4 separate regions of the Homo sapiens genome follow, and all the other regions are linked to region 1. Evidence: promoter capture Hi-C in 16 types of primary human blood cells and fetal thymus (Javierre and others, 2016). All regions are on one chromosome and are shown on one strand. Each heading gives the region's core, a stretch centred on a gene start or on the middle of the fragment in contact. The rest is flanking DNA. Distances are from core to core; before and after follow the strand shown.

Evidence for each region. Contacts are between HindIII fragments. The CHiCAGO score rates a contact against its expected background, and 5 or more counts as called.
Region 2: a contact is called between a fragment that was not itself captured here and the fragment with the promoter of THAP1 in region 1, in 1 of 17 cell types (activated CD4 T cells). The highest score is 5.5, in activated CD4 T cells.
Region 3: a fragment that was not itself captured here is called in contact with the fragment with the promoter of THAP1 in region 1 in 2 of 17 cell types (total CD8 T cells and monocytes); the score reaches 6.8 in total CD8 T cells.
Region 4: a fragment that was not itself captured here is called in contact with the fragment with the promoter of THAP1 in region 1 in 1 of 17 cell types (fetal thymus); the score reaches 8.1 in fetal thymus.

What each region holds. Positions count from the first base shown.
Region 1 is chr8:42,841,548-42,845,247 of GRCh38, forward strand. It overlaps THAP1 (THAP domain containing 1), which reads right to left and starts at 1,778. Exons shown (of 3, transcript NM_018105.3): 1 at 1,477-1,778. The coding sequence starts at 1,547. It overlaps LOC124901940 (a long non-coding RNA gene), which reads left to right and starts at 1,387. Exons shown (of 2, transcript XR_007060901.1): 1 at 1,387-1,836; 2 at 2,220-3,700. RefSeq lists enhancers at 1,371-2,161, 1,497-1,856 and a silencer at 1,377-1,466. The HindIII fragment of the contact is 1,565 bases long and covers 973-2,537 here.
Region 2 is chr8:41,958,562-41,962,261 of GRCh38, forward strand. All of the region lies in intron 8 of KAT6A (lysine acetyltransferase 6A), which reads right to left. Among named protein-coding and RNA genes, the nearest start is that of KAT6A-AS1, 91 kb to the right of the region's middle. The HindIII fragment of the contact is 5,570 bases long and covers 1-3,700 here.
Region 3 is chr8:42,035,752-42,039,451 of GRCh38, forward strand. The region is part of intron 2 of KAT6A (lysine acetyltransferase 6A); the gene reads right to left. Among named protein-coding and RNA genes, the nearest start is that of KAT6A-AS1, 14 kb to the right of the region's middle. The HindIII fragment of the contact is 516 bases long and covers 1,422-1,937 here.
Region 4 is chr8:42,145,478-42,149,177 of GRCh38, forward strand. No RefSeq gene overlaps it. Among named protein-coding and RNA genes, the nearest start is that of AP3M2, 5.7 kb to the right of the region's middle. The HindIII fragment of the contact is 901 bases long and covers 1,552-2,452 here.

The DNA.
Region 1 (3,700 bases), core at 528-3,027:
CCAAGTGCTGGGAATTACAGGCATGAGCCATCGTGCCTCGACAAAAACAGTTATTTCCGACGTGTGAATACCCTCTTTAAACTAGTTTCCAGTGCCAATGAAACATTTTCCATAATTTTAGATTCCTTCTGCCAAGCCATCAGAAATGTGGGTGGGGAGCTGGGCATGTAATCCTGTTACCATCACCTGACCTTTCCCTACATTTAGAAAGAACATGTTTACAGAAATTCCAATTAAATCAAGAGATAATATTAGGATATCCTGAACTGAATCCTCTAAGTGTTCTATCCCCTTCTCCAAGGGGTAACATTATTACTCTGGAGACCTCTCTATGTTCTACACACTCTTATTTCTATAGGGTCCATCTCACATGATATCAAACATATTTAAAAAATGCATGGACACTCCCCTAGTAAACACAGATGGCCCCACAGCAAAAAAATAAATTAACTGAAAAGATATTTAACATTTTGCTTTTGTAATTATTTACCTAATTATAAAAGATAATTAGCTAATTACCTATGGCTAATCTGTATAGTTTACCCCTGGATCTGATTTCTTACCTATCATCTGCGTATAGCTGTCAGGAATTCTTGCAAAGAAAACTTAACATAAATGTAATTAAAATTTGTAAACAAATTCAGCTGAATGAAAATGTTATGTCACATTTTACAAGCGTTTATCATAAGTAATTACAACTCTGCACTTTTTTCCTATTTTCAAGAGAATATTTTTGATCCTATCACTTAACTGTGCTACCTACTGGATAAGACAGCTCTGAAAGCTGTGGGGCAGTTTCTTTCGAAAGAGCTTTCTCTATGCACAGGTAATGCCATAATAAATAAAGATCCGTGTGAGTCATTTTATTATGATCCATGTTGTAACTGTCCATATTATCATTATTGTGTGCTGAAAAGATAACGATTTATCTCGGCAGTACCTGAAGCTTTCTCCAAAATACAGGGTCCTTAAAGCTTAGTTCCTAGAGATTGGGGGCAAAAATTCTCCCTGATTTCCCAGCCAAAAAACCCTTAATTGCTACGATGCTGGCCTCCCATCCACGGCAAGGGCGAAAAGTAGTGATTTCTTCGTTTAAAGGCCTTTGTTTCTATTTTAAATTTACCCCTAAGACCATATTAAAACACCTGGCTGCTCTGTGACCCTGGTGGTGGCAAAACCCGCGCCACCCTAGGCATCGCCCGTGGGCTCCGAACGCGTCAACCCAGGCCGTGAGCGAAGCCTGCAACCAGGGCCTGTTCCAGGAGCGCGAGAAACGGCTGCCGCGGCGACGCGCGCCGAGAACGCGCGATCGGGCGGCGGTTCCCAGCGGGACGCGGTGGGAAACGCCCGACACGGCCGGCCCCAGACCCCACCCGCCCCTCGCGCGGACACGCGCCTGGCTCCGCCCCCGGCCCCGCCGGCCGCGCGCCCCCACCCCGGCTGAGACCGGCCCCGCGAGGCGCGCAGGGTCCTCACTTGTGGAAAGAAACGGGCTTGTCCTTGTCGTAGCGGTTCTTGCAGCCGTAGGCGGAGCAGGACTGCACCATCCTTCCGGTCCTCAGGCACTTCACTTCTGCCGCCGCAGAAGGCAGGGGAAGCTGTTCTCAGTGTCGCTGCGCTCGGTTGGATTCCCTCGCTTCTTTTGTAGCTTTGGCCAACAGTTACAGTGATGGTGGCCTCCCTCGGGGGTGACTAGTGTGCCCGTTTTGTTGTTTGCATTAGCAGAAGGACCACAGCCATCGCCCGTCTCCCATCTCCAAGATGGCGGAGGCAGCTTCAACCTCACCTCTCGCGAGGGGTGCGTCCCACTGTCTCTGATTAGCCCCGAGGTCAGAGGTAACGTTTCCTGGGAAGCTAACTATTGGCTGAGGCCAGGTGTTTCCGGCGGTGGCTTCAGAGTTGCCGAAGTGGGCGGAGCCCTGAGCTTCCGGCAGGCAGGAAGGAACTGCTTGTGGGGGGAGGAGGCGCGGCGGGAGGCCGGATTCCTGGGGCATCCTCCAGCCCCGGGCTGTTCCCGTGGGTTAATTGATGCGGACCTTTTCTGGGGCAGCTTACAGTAGGGAACAACTAGGGCCTCTTGGAGAACAGGTGTAAAGCCGAGGTCGTTGGCTGATTGCGCCCATTTCTTTAAAAGGGCGGACACAGATGGTGTATGATTAATAAAATTGTGGAACCTTTTCCCAGAGTGCTAATCTTTATCCCATTACCTGTGTCTTCAGGTATCACAAGTTTCTGTGAGAGCCAACGTGACAGATTTTTAGCAATGAAAAAAGACACACTCGCCAAATCATCTCAATTGCCAACGCAGAAGCGTTTTATATATATGTATGTATATGTATGTATATATGTGTGTATGTATATATGTGTGTGTGTATGTATATATATATATATATATGTAATTTTTTAAATAAATAGAGGCGTTGTCTCCCCACGTTGCCCAGGTCAGTCTGGAACTCGAGCTCAAGGGATCCTCCCATCTCGACCTCCCCATGGGTTGGGATTACAGGAGTTGAGCCACCAGGCTGTCCCTCCCCAGAAGCTTTTCTGAAGGCTCTCCATTGCTGTGATTTCCATGTGCTGTGTTGCAAATAGCGAACTGCTGCAGCAATTTTCACACCTGAGAGAGAATATGTTAGAGGGGTTCGAACTAGAGCGACTCTGTGTTGAGTGAGGGCTAGGAAAATGAGGCTGGGACTTGCTGGGCTGCATTCCCGGGAAGTTAGGTATTCCTAGCCTCTAGATGTGTATACCATTAAGGCAACAGATTGATAATGTTTACTACACAGACCCAGACTACCAAGTGTCCAGATATCCCGATATTTTGAGAACAGAAGCATTCCTAATTTTGCTTTAAAGATAATAATATTGGGCTGGGCACAGTGCCTCACGCCTGTAATCCCAGCACTTTGGAAGGCCGAGGCGGGCGGATCACTTGAGGTCAGGAGTTCAAGACTAGCCTGGTCAACATGGTGAAAACGTCTCTACTAAAAATACAAAAATTAACCGGGTGTGGTGGCACATGCCCTCGAATTTCAGCTACTCTGGAGGCTGAGGCAGGATAATCGCTTGAATCCGGGAGGCGGGGGTTGCAGTGAGCCGTGCTTGCACCACTGCACTCCAGCCTGGGCGACAGAGTAAGACTCTGTCTCATAAATAAAGATAATATCGATTCTTACATAATATAGTAATTAATCCTTTATCACAAACCCTTGTAGCAAAGCACATCTCCCCATGATCTTTTTTTATCCTATATATAAACTAAGTGTTGTACTTAGGGTGGACGCGTTCCTCCTCTTACTTTCGGGAATGCCCTACTCTGTCTGTGGAGTAGCTGTACTTTCACCACTTTACGTTCTTAATAAACTTGCTTTTGCTTTGTACTGTGGACTTGCCCTGAATTCTGTCTTGCGTGAGATCCAAGAACCCTGTCTTGGGGTCTGGATTGGGACCCCTTTCCTGTAACAGTTTTACTTCATTCCCTGCTCCTTTTCTTTATATAGATCTGAGCCAGGCAGACCTGGAGAGCGGACTGTTGAGTAATCCCTTGGCCCTTATTCTCTACCTTTCCTGCCCTTTTAAATGTTGCTGTTTCCCCAGGGTTCCATCTTCTGCCCTCCTCTAACTCCTAAACACCCTGCTCCTTAAACTGAACCAAATACCATAATTCTCTCATCTTTTATTTCCTTTGTATATCCGTTCT
Region 2 (3,700 bases), core at 791-3,290, 880 kb before region 1:
AGCTACAAGTCCACAAACTTTTAACCCAAAACCCTTGGACTGGAGTAGAATGTGTTTTGGAATTCTGAATTTTTCTGATTTTAGAAAAGTATTAGTACATATATGTGTATAGTACATGCATGTGTATAGCCCTAGTAGGATTTGGAGCAGCACTCCATAATCAGACACACTAAAATTTCTTTAGCAAAGCATATGAATATTCACATTAACTGGCATAAGTAAGGAATACAAATAGTCTCACATCAGCTCAGATCATGTTTTTGTCAGTAACTCAGTTCAGGTCAAGTGGGACTTTATTGCAAAATGAGTTAGAAAAGGCCGGGCGTGGTGGCTCACGCCTGTAATCCCAGCACTCTGGGAGGCTGAGGTGGGCGGATCACGAGGTCAGGAGATCGAGACCATCCTGGCTAACAAGGTGAAACCCCATCTCTACTAAAAATACAAAAAATTAGCTGAGGAGCTTGGTGGCGGGCACCTGTAGTCCCAGCTACTCAGAGGCTGAGGCAGGAGAATGGGGTGAACCCAGGAGGCAGAGCTTGCAATGAGCCCAGATCGCGCCACTGCACTCCAGCCTGGGTGACAGAGCCAGACTGTCTCGAAAAAAAAAAAAAAAAAAAAAGTTGGAAAAGTTTCTTTCCATTCTCCAAAGAAGATATACAGATGGCCAATAAGCTCATGAAAAGATGCTCAACATCACTAATAATTAGGAAAATGTAAATCAAACCACAATCAGATACTACTTCACACCCATTAGGATGGTTATTATTTTTAAATGCAAAACACCAGAAAATAACAGATGTTGGTGAAGATGTGGAAAAATCAGAACCCTTGTCCCATTGCTGGCGGGAATACAAAATGGCACAGCTGCTGTGGAAAACAGTATGATGGTTCCTCAAAAAAGTAAACAGAATTACCACATAATCTAGCAATTCCACTGCTGATTATAGACCCCACAGAACTGAAAGCAGTTCTTTGTATATGGGTATCTATTTGCATACTCATGTTCATAGCAGCACTATTTACAACCCAAGTATCCACTGACAGATGAATGGATAAACCAAATGTGGTACATACGTACAATGGAATATTCTCCAGCCTTAAAAAGGAAGGCAATGGTTGGGCGCTGGTGGCTCACGCCTGTAATCCCAGCACTCTGGGAGGCCAAGGTGGGCAGATCATGAGGTCAAGAGATTGAGACCATCCTGGCCAACGTGGTGAAACCCCGTCTCTACTAAAAATACAATAATTAGCTGGGTGTATGGCACATGCCTGTAGTCCCAGCTACTCGGGAGGCTGAGGCAGAAGAAACACTTGAACCCGGGAGGCAGAGGTTGCAGTGAGCCAAGATCGCGCAACTGCACTCCAGCCTGGGCAACAGTGCAAGACTCTGTCTTTAAAGAAAAAAAAAAAAAATACAAGGAAGGCAATTCTGACACAGGCTAAAATACATATGAACCTTGGGGACATTATGCTAAGTGAAACAGCCAGACACAAAAGGACAAATATTGTATAATTCTACTTATGGTACCTAGAGTAGACAAATTAATAAAGGCAGAAGACAGAATGATGCTTACCAGGGGTGGGGGTAGGGGTGGGGGGTTGGGAGTTGTTTAATGGGTACAGAGTTCCAGTTTTGCAAGATAAAAAAGTTCTGGAAATAGATGATGGTGATGATTGCACAACAAGGTGAATGTCTTTAATGCCACTGAATTGTACACTTAAAAATGGTCTGGTTAGGCCGGGCGCAGTGGCTCATGCCTGTAATCCCAGCACTTTGGGAGGCCAAGGCCGGCGGATCACGATCGAGACCATCCTGGCTAGCAAGGTGAAACCCCGTCTCTACTAAAAATACAAAGAATGGCGAGAACCCGGGAGGCGGAGCTTGCAGTGAGCCAAGATGACGCCGCTGTACTCCAGCCTGGGTGACAGAGTAAGACTCCGTCTCAAAAAAAAAAAAAAAAAAAAGTCTGGTTAAAATAACTTTTACATTATGTATATTTTACCACAATTATTTTTTTTCAAATTTTCAGGACTCCTTAAATTTCAGGATTCTGGATATTGTGACCTATCTTTCCCTTTTCCTAAGCCTTTTTGCTCTACACTCAGACTTCTCTTTATCCATCTCCTTTGCTAATTCTTTTACCATTAAATATTGACAAAATCTAGAATTCTGTCCTCGGCCATCTTACCTTTTCCATCCGGAGGACCCATAATCCAGTGCTTCCATCAGCTTTCCACTCTCCCCACACCCTCCTTTCTCTCTACGCAGCTTAGATTCTAAGGTCTTTTTCCCTGTAATTCCACCCTTTGCATAGACCTTTAACTCTCTAGTTTCTCTTCTAATTTCACAACAAAATCCTAACCCCTGTTAAATTCAACTCTTCACATAATCGAAGTTATTACCTTAATGTGAATATGGGTGGAGAAAAACAGAGAATCATGCTACCCAGTCTCACATTATACACCTACCCACAAACCTCAAGCAGGTCCTGATGCTTCCTACTCCATTCACTCTCCCGTTCTGAAAGACAACTGCACCCTTTCTCCTCTGCTCAAGCCTCCAACACTGCTTACTCCACCTTCACTTTCAGCCAATGCTTTTGCTTCCTACTGCACTAAACTGGACAAAATCAAAAGAAAACTTCTGCAATTTTTCCCACCCACATCTGTCTGCCTCCACCTTTGTGCCACACATCCTGCCTTTCACCAATACTATGGCTAAAGATTGAGCTCCTAAGCCCACGGCTTCCGTTTGTGCATGAGATAACATCTTCCTGCTCCCTAGCCAAAGAACATCACCCAGCAGTTCCCCTCCTATCTTCTGCATCATCAGCTTTCCCTCTACCAGAGCATTCCATCAGCATACAAACAGCTGTTATTCATTCCATATTTTAAAAAGGGGGAGAGGGGTGTGTGGGCATGGTGGCTCACCCCTGTAATCCTAACACTTTGGGAGGCCAAGGTGGGCGGGTCACAAGGTCAAGAGATCGAGACCATCCTGGCCAACATGGTGAAACCCTGTCCCTACTAAAAATAGAAAAATTAGTTGGGAGTGGTGGCGCACACCTGTAGTACCAGCTACTCGGGAGGCTGAGGCAGGAGAATCCCTTGAACCCGGGACGTGGCGGTTGCAATGAGCCGAGATGGTGCCACTGCACTCCAGCCTGGTGACAGAGCGAGACTCCATCTCAAAAAAAAAAAAAAAAAAAAAAGTATCTTCTTTAGCCCTCACAGCTCTATCCAACTCTCCCTTTCTCTGCTCCTAATTACTGTAAAAAACCTCAAAACAATGGCCACATATTACTACTATAACCAATTTCTCCTTCCATTCTTTCTTGAAACCACTCCAATTATCTCTTCACCCTCCCCTGTCCCCATCATGGAAACAGTTTCTCAAGATTACTTCCTTGTTGCTAAGCTGGACAGTCAATTTTCAGTTCTCTTCTTACTTGGCCTATTTGCAGAATTTAAAAACTGATCCTTCCTTCTTACAACACATTCTTCACTTAGCTTCTAAGGAACTACACCTTCATGTTTTTTTTCCTACTTCACTGGCCATTCCTTCTCAGTTTCTCCAATCTCTAAAAGTTGGAATAACCTAGACTCAAAGTTCTTCTCTTCTCCCTTGGTGATCTCATCTAGTCTCATTTTTCAAAAAAACAACCTACTTGCTGGTGAGTCCTGAATTGAAAATTTCAGC
Region 3 (3,700 bases), core at 430-2,929, 810 kb before region 1:
AGCAGACGTGGAATGAATATAGACTTTTTTCAAGAAGTTTAAAAATGAATGGAAACAGACAGGGTATACATAGAAAGAAGGATCTGCAGTGGTTTTTTGGTTGTTTTTACTCTAACGGGAGAGTCTTCTGCCTGCTAAGGACTAAAAAGTGAGCGAGAAAGATGATAGAGTCAAAAAATGGGACTATTTTTGATGGCACACGGCCCCTGAGGTAGCAGAGAATGGGGTCCTGAAAAAGAATGGAGAGATGAGCCTTTCACACTTCTTTCACTGTCCTATGACAAGGTAGCAAAGCGGGCAGAAATAAGCACAGATGTATTTAGGATGGCATGAGAGGGGTATAAACTCAATGAGCTCAATTGGACAGATTCCATTATCTCTATGATGTAGCATATGGGAGTATCTACTGAAAATGAGAAAAAAAGGTGGGAAGAAATACTGAATTTCTGCAGACAGAACAGACTATACACAGACATACATCTTCAAGCAGAGGGCAGAGCTCAGATTGGAGGCCACAAATTTGTAAGTGGCATCCCACCACATGGTCATGAGATTTTCCCCAAAGTTAAAGCAGAGAGGTTGGGCACGATGGCTCATGCCTGTAATCCCAGCACTTTGGGAGGCCAAGGTGGGCAGATCACCTGAGGTCAGGAGTTCAAGACCAGCCTAGCCAACATGATGAAACCCCGTCTCCACTAAAAAAATACAAAAATTAGCCAGGGGTGGTAGCAGGCACCTGTAATCCCAGCTGCTTGGGAGGCTGAGGCAGAAGAATCGCTTGAACCCAGGAGATGGAGGTTGCAGTGAGCAGAGATCGCACCACTGCACTCCAGCCTGGGTGACAGAGCAAGACTCCAACTCAAAAAAAAAAGGAGAAGGTGGTAAATGGCTGGAGTTTGCCAACATGATGCAGGAGTAGTGAGTGAGTGAGAATGTGCCATAAGGCCAAGCAATGAGAACAGCATTAGAGTGATGGCAGGGCACCTGTCGGAATCATGCAGGTAACTTTCTCGCAACTATATACCACACAAGATCTTCTTGAGATAAAGCAGTGAGGGTAAGGAGAAAGAAAGGTGGAAGATTAGAGTAGTTATAGCCAGGGAGGACAATAAAACAGAATGTACATTTCCAGAAGTACACTGTCCTGGGTCCAAAGTGTGTTCATGAGGGTGTGTGTGAAGCATGCTATTTCATCATTTGTTTGAATGTCAATTATGAGGTTAAAAAGTACCTGCTTCTTCTGTCTTCTGACTCTCTTAGCCAGTCCCCACTACAGAGATGTTGGTTCTAAGCATTAGAGCAATGGTTCTCAACCCCAGCTGCACATCAGATAAACATTCTTAAAAAAATAAAAAATAAAAAAAACTGAAACCTGGGCCTCACTACTAGTCAAATTTAATTAGTTTGGTATTTATTTTTTAAGCTTCCTCAGGTAATGCTAAAGTGAATTTAGTGCCAAGTACCACTGCTTTCCAAAGAATAAGGCTTTGGATTTATGTTACAGAATTAAAGAAAAACTGAGTGGCATGGAAAAAAGTAAGGCAGGAAAATGGTGAAAGAGGGTTTAAATAGTAAGTTAGATATTTAAAGATGCCCTGAATAGAAAAATTGGGAAACTATTAAAGTACAGAATCACACTCCACACACAAAAATAGTAATAATGTTTCTGAGAGTTCTGTTAAAGGTTCTAGAAAACTCAGGAGTTAAATGCTTCACTGTACCCAATGACTAAGAAAAAAGGAACCTAGACTTTACTAAGCTCAAAGAATTAAAAACCAACACTTAGCAGCTCTTCAGGTCAACTACAGTTCACAATTCCCTGGAGGAAAACGCAGCCCATAGTACAAGTCTGACAACACCTCTAGATCTGCGGAATCACCTATTCTACATAAAAGGTAAACGGCAAAAGAAGCAACTATCTTCTTTAACACATTGAAAGCTTTTTTTTTTTTTTTGGCTGCCAGATTTTATTTCCACACCAGTTATCTTCTTCTTAACAAGTTACACCTATAATCTTAAAATCGCCCAGTTATTTTACAAACATCTGTCCTCAATCTTAATCTTTATTTGCCACTATCCTAATGTACTTGCTAAGTTTTACAGCAAAGCAGAAGTGATGCAGAGATGAAGTGTTAGTCATAAAGACCAATAAAGACAAAAAATGATGTGCTGTCTGCGGTCTTCCCCACACGGTCTGTTTACAAGTAACATTACAAATCTCTCAAGCTCCTCCCAGACACTATGTTTATAGAAGTGCTAGACTATACACTTTTGGTCCACCCATATTTAATGTCTTTGGTAAAAATTACTTCATTAATTAATAGAAAGGTTTGTACCTTGCTATCTCTAGCTCAGTCTCAAGAATTTTAAATTCTAACCAATGATCCAAGTCACTCAGAGGTCATTTGTGTTGCAGACCTACTGAAAATTAGACTTACCTTTAAATGGACTTTTTTTCCCAAAACTCAAGGAGTACTTTTTCTTCCAGCATTAAGGTAGCTCAACATGTTCCCCTTCTAATATTTAGCCAACAACATAAGAAAACCTTGATTCCTCTAACTTGGGCCATAAGAAAGCAGTCTTTTCCCAAAAAGTTGTTTCAAAACTCTAACAAGAGTGTATAGCTATTTTCACACACTGAAATAGCAGATTTATATATTTGTGGTTTACGATACCACCAATATTCTCTAGACAAGGTTTATTCTATGGTTTCCATTAAGGAAGAGAATTCTAACTAAATTATTTTAGGCTCACTGCTCTCTAATACTATAAAGCAGTACTACAGCATAATGAAAAAAGCACAAAATTGAGAAGGGCCTGACCAATTCTTCCAGATGGTATTAACTGGCTGTGTGGCACTGGACAAGACACTTCAACCTCTTTGGCTCTCAAATTTCCCTATTATTTGTGAAATCAGATTAGAATCACTGTGATCCAAGATTGCTACTGGCTGAACATTCTACACAATGCAGAAGATACAAGTCTTTTTTTCTAATAATCTATGTTTCGTAAGCATAATACAATTCAACCATAAAAGATACCTCAATCAACACTACAGCCAGACTTACTTTTCCTTAGCAGTCTTTTTTTTTCTTTAAATTGCTGACAGTTAAAAACTATTTTGACCCAGAATGGCATACTACTATAATCTCTATGCTTAATTTCAACTCCTAATAAAATAGTGCCACACTACAAATGGTTTCTTCACCTGTTCCCTAATGAAGTTGAAAATAATTCCTTGGCCTTGAATTTACAGATACATGTACAGGGCTGATGAAAGCCATCTGCTGGGAACTATGACTTTCATATGAAAGGAAAAAACCAGAAGGAACTGCTTTCATTTTCCTGGGAACCAGCTGCAGCTGAATGAGTCCTAATCCTGCTCCAGCTGGGACAAGCAGAAGGGTGAAGTTACTCCTGGTCTAATTCATTCGCTGCAGATCCTTTGTGAAATGACTCCACCCCTGAGTAGCCAAGTGGTAAATAACTTTATCAGAGTGAAGCTCTTAATAATTCCTATACATAAATCAGAGCATGAAAAGTATTCATTATTATAATTTTAAGAAACACTCTCCAGGTCACCAGAAAAAAATAAATTTTTAATTCTATTTAAACCAGCAAACTCCGCACCTAGATTTAGTCCTCTTACATAGCTAAGAACCAAGTCAGTATGACAAAGATATTTTCTCCAAAACTTTAA
Region 4 (3,700 bases), core at 752-3,251, 700 kb before region 1:
GGGTGGTAGAGGAAGACAAAGATGGGGGGTAGATTTAGACAAGGTGCTTAATGGAAGACTCCCTGAGAAGGTACCATAAAGGAAGACTTAAAGGAAGAACAGGAGCTTCCAAACAGAGGAAAGAGCATATTCTAGGCCCAGAGCTGAGAGTGGGGGTGAGTGGTGGAGGGGTGTGGCAAGAGATTCAACTGGAGAGATCGAGAGGACAGATAAGTGTTAAAGGTAGTCAGGTGTGGTGGCATGCCTGTAGTCCCATTTACTCAGGAGGCTGAAGCGGGAGTATTGCTTGAGTCCAGGAGTTCAAGGCTGCAATGAGTTATGATCACATCACTGCACTCCAGCCTGGGCAACACAGTGAGACCCTGACTCTAAGCGGGGAAAAAAAAGAAGTAGTAAAGGCATTTTTGATTTAATGCCATGGGAATGCATTGATGGGTTCCAAGCTGCACATAACTGTTTACAGTTTTAAAAGCTCACTTTTGCTGCTGTATAGAAAATGGATTGGAGGGGTGAGAGTAGAAATGGGAGACCAGTATGGCAGCGGTTATCATCTTTCAGGGAAGTGGTGATTGTGGCCTGGACTAAAGTGATGACATTGCATTGGAGAGATTCTGAATTCCTGATGTACATTGAAGATAGAATCCACAGGGTATGCTTCTGATTACATGAGGGGATGAGGGTAATGGAGGACTTGAGGATGACTCATGGGTTTGAGTAGCTGGATGGATGGTGGTATTGTTTACTAAGCTGGGGAAAACAGTTGAGGTTGGAGATACATCGAGAGCTGTCATCATTAAAAGGGTATTACACTCATGAAGCCATCTAGGGAGAGTGCAGAGAAAGAACCGCGGAGCGTCTACTAACAAGCCACAGAATAATGCCATGCCCCTGAGGTGAGGGTGTGGCCTCATGATTGGATATTCTTGTGGCTAATCATCTGGGGAAGGGACCATTTGGTGCAATAATTATGTCCCTCAGGAGACTGGAACCAGGAGGCCAGCCTGAGGCCACCAGGAGAGGGAGGCTGCTGTCTCCTTGTCAGACAAGGTTTGGATTTCAGGAACTCCAGATGGCTTGCCGGGGCTCCTAGGTGAGAGGAGGTACACAGCATCCCTGTCCCCTGGAAGCAGGTGTGCATCCCATAGAGACATCTAAGATGCCCGGATTGGATCACATTTGTGAGCTACATTTTTAGTTGCATGTTACTCTTTCTGCTCACTTCCTTTCTGTTATCTTCAAGTCTTTTTTTTTTTTTTTTTTGAGACTGAGTCTCGTTCTATCACCCAGGCTGGAGTGCAATGGCACGATCTTGGCTCACTGCAAACTCTGCCTTCCAGGTTCAAGCCATTCTCATGCCTCGGCCTCCCGAGTAGCTGGGATTACAGGTGGCCGCCACCATGCCCAGCTAATTTTTGTATTTTTAGTAGAAATGGGTTGGCCAGGCTGGTCTCGAACTCCTGACCTCAAGTGATCCGCCCACCTCTGTCTCCCAAAATGTTGGGATTACAGGCGTGAGCCACTGTGCTCGGCCTATCTTCAAGTCTTTAGACAAGCTTTGGATAAATGTCCATCCTGGTCTCTGCTCTGCTATAGGAAATTAAACAAACAACAAAAAATAGTGTGTCTTAAATGCCATTGAAGAGTTAAAGGGATACTGACCCTCCCAAAACCAGTATGGTGGTGGGAGCTGCAGCCAGCAGTGAGAGGTCCCTAAGGGGAAAGCGGATCTCTTTTTCTAGAGTAGGGCGTCAGGTTCAGTCTCTCCTCTCCACATGGACAGGCTCCTTTCATGGCCAGGCTTAAAGGAGCTGGTTTTTTTTTTTTTTTTTTTTTGAGATGGAGTCTCCCTCTGTGGCCCAGGCTGGAGTGCAGTGGCGTGATCTTGGCTCACTGCAACTTCTGCCTCCTGGGTTCAAGTGATTCTCCTGCCTCAGCCTCCCCGAGTAGCTGGGACTATAGGTGCATGCCACCACACTGGGCTAATTTTTTTTTTTTCTATTTTTAGTAGAGACAAGGTTTCACCATGTTGGCCAGGCTGGTCTCGAACTCTTGACTTCAGGTGATCCACCCGCCTTGGCCTCCCAAAGTGCTGGGATTACAGGTGTGAGCCACGGCGCCCGGCCTGGTTTTGATAAGGGGAGCAGTCTACACTTTAAATCCCCCCTCCACTTGACTGTATGTTCCTTGAAGTAACATAGAGTACCGCATCTTTGTACCCGCAGTGTCCAGGAGGTTGTAAGCACTCCATCACTGTTAGTTTAATAGGTGATTGTTCACTAGACATTGTGAGACACACTGTGGTTTCCCAAAGAGCTTAGAATCCAGATTTGGTCAGCAGATGCACATGTTGATGCATGGCAGAGTGTGCCCGCTCTGTAGGTTACATGAAAGAGCTGGGAAATGCTCTTTGATCACAGAGGAGGGAAACATTACTCCCAGTGTGGGGGCAAGAAGCTTCAAACAGACTTTGTGGAGGAGGAAACATATGGCTGGGCCTTGCGGGCTGGAGCGAATTTCCAAAATAGGATGAGTAAAAGACAAACATGTGCCAGGTAGAGGGCTCCGTGAGAAGGGAGGCATGAGGAGAAGGCATTCCATTGCTTCAGTGCATGACCGGTAGTGAGGTGTGTTGCAAGGAGAGCATACGTGTGAACAGGGAGGAAGTGGCAAAGACGCAGAAATGATGTTGCAGCTCTGAAAAAAATGTCTTTCTGGGTGGGCAAGGCCTCTCTTGTCTCAGACCAAAAATGAAATATAAATAAATAAATAAATAAATGGTTCCCAGTGAATCCTGATAGCTAGGATTAACTTTTTATGGTAGAAAAATTTCTCAGCAGTGAGAGCTGTTAAACATTAGAATGGTTTGTGAGTGGCAGCTTTAGGAAATCTTTCCCTAGAGATTTTTATGCACAAAATAGACTGACTTATCATTTGTCAATGATTTCCTGTGGCCTCTCTTAAAGTCATGGGAAAGTATTACATGAGCTCTCAGATTCTATGTTACTTGATTCAATTCAACAAACACTTGAGTGTCAACTTGGTTCATGCCCCCAGGCATTGCTATATACTGGATTCATGCGCCCTCCCCGCAAGGGGCCTCTCTTCCAGTGATCCCCATCTCAACACATGATGCTTCCATCCATGTCATTGCCCGAATCAGAAACCTACTCTGCCTCACCACTGACATTCCATTAATCCCTAATCCCTATCTTCTCTGGAAGGTGTCCACTTCTCTCTAATCCCTGCCTCATGGCTCCAGGCACTAGCTCTCTCCTAGGGATTACTGCAATTGTCTAAATAACCTCCCAGCCTCCAGGCTCAGCCTGTTACAGTCCATCCTGCACACATAGTCTTTCTGAAATGGAAATCTGAAAGTGTGCCACTCTCCTGCTTCACATTTCTTCAATGGGTTCCTGGGCTTAGAGGTAGGAAGTGTGGAATCTGAGCCATTCTGCTCAGATCTTCCAACGTCCTTGAATCACAGCTTTGCTGTTCGACCTTGGGCAGTTATTTAAGCTGTCTTTGCAGCTTCCTCATCTACGAAAAGGGGATCACAACGGTAATTCATTTTAGAGTAGTTGGGGGGATTAAATGATTTCAGATCCTCCTCTCTTATGTGAACTCTTAAATTTGGAGTGTCCCTGGAATCTGGTTCTCTTATCTCTCCACACTCCTTCCCTCGGTCATCTCAACAGGTCCT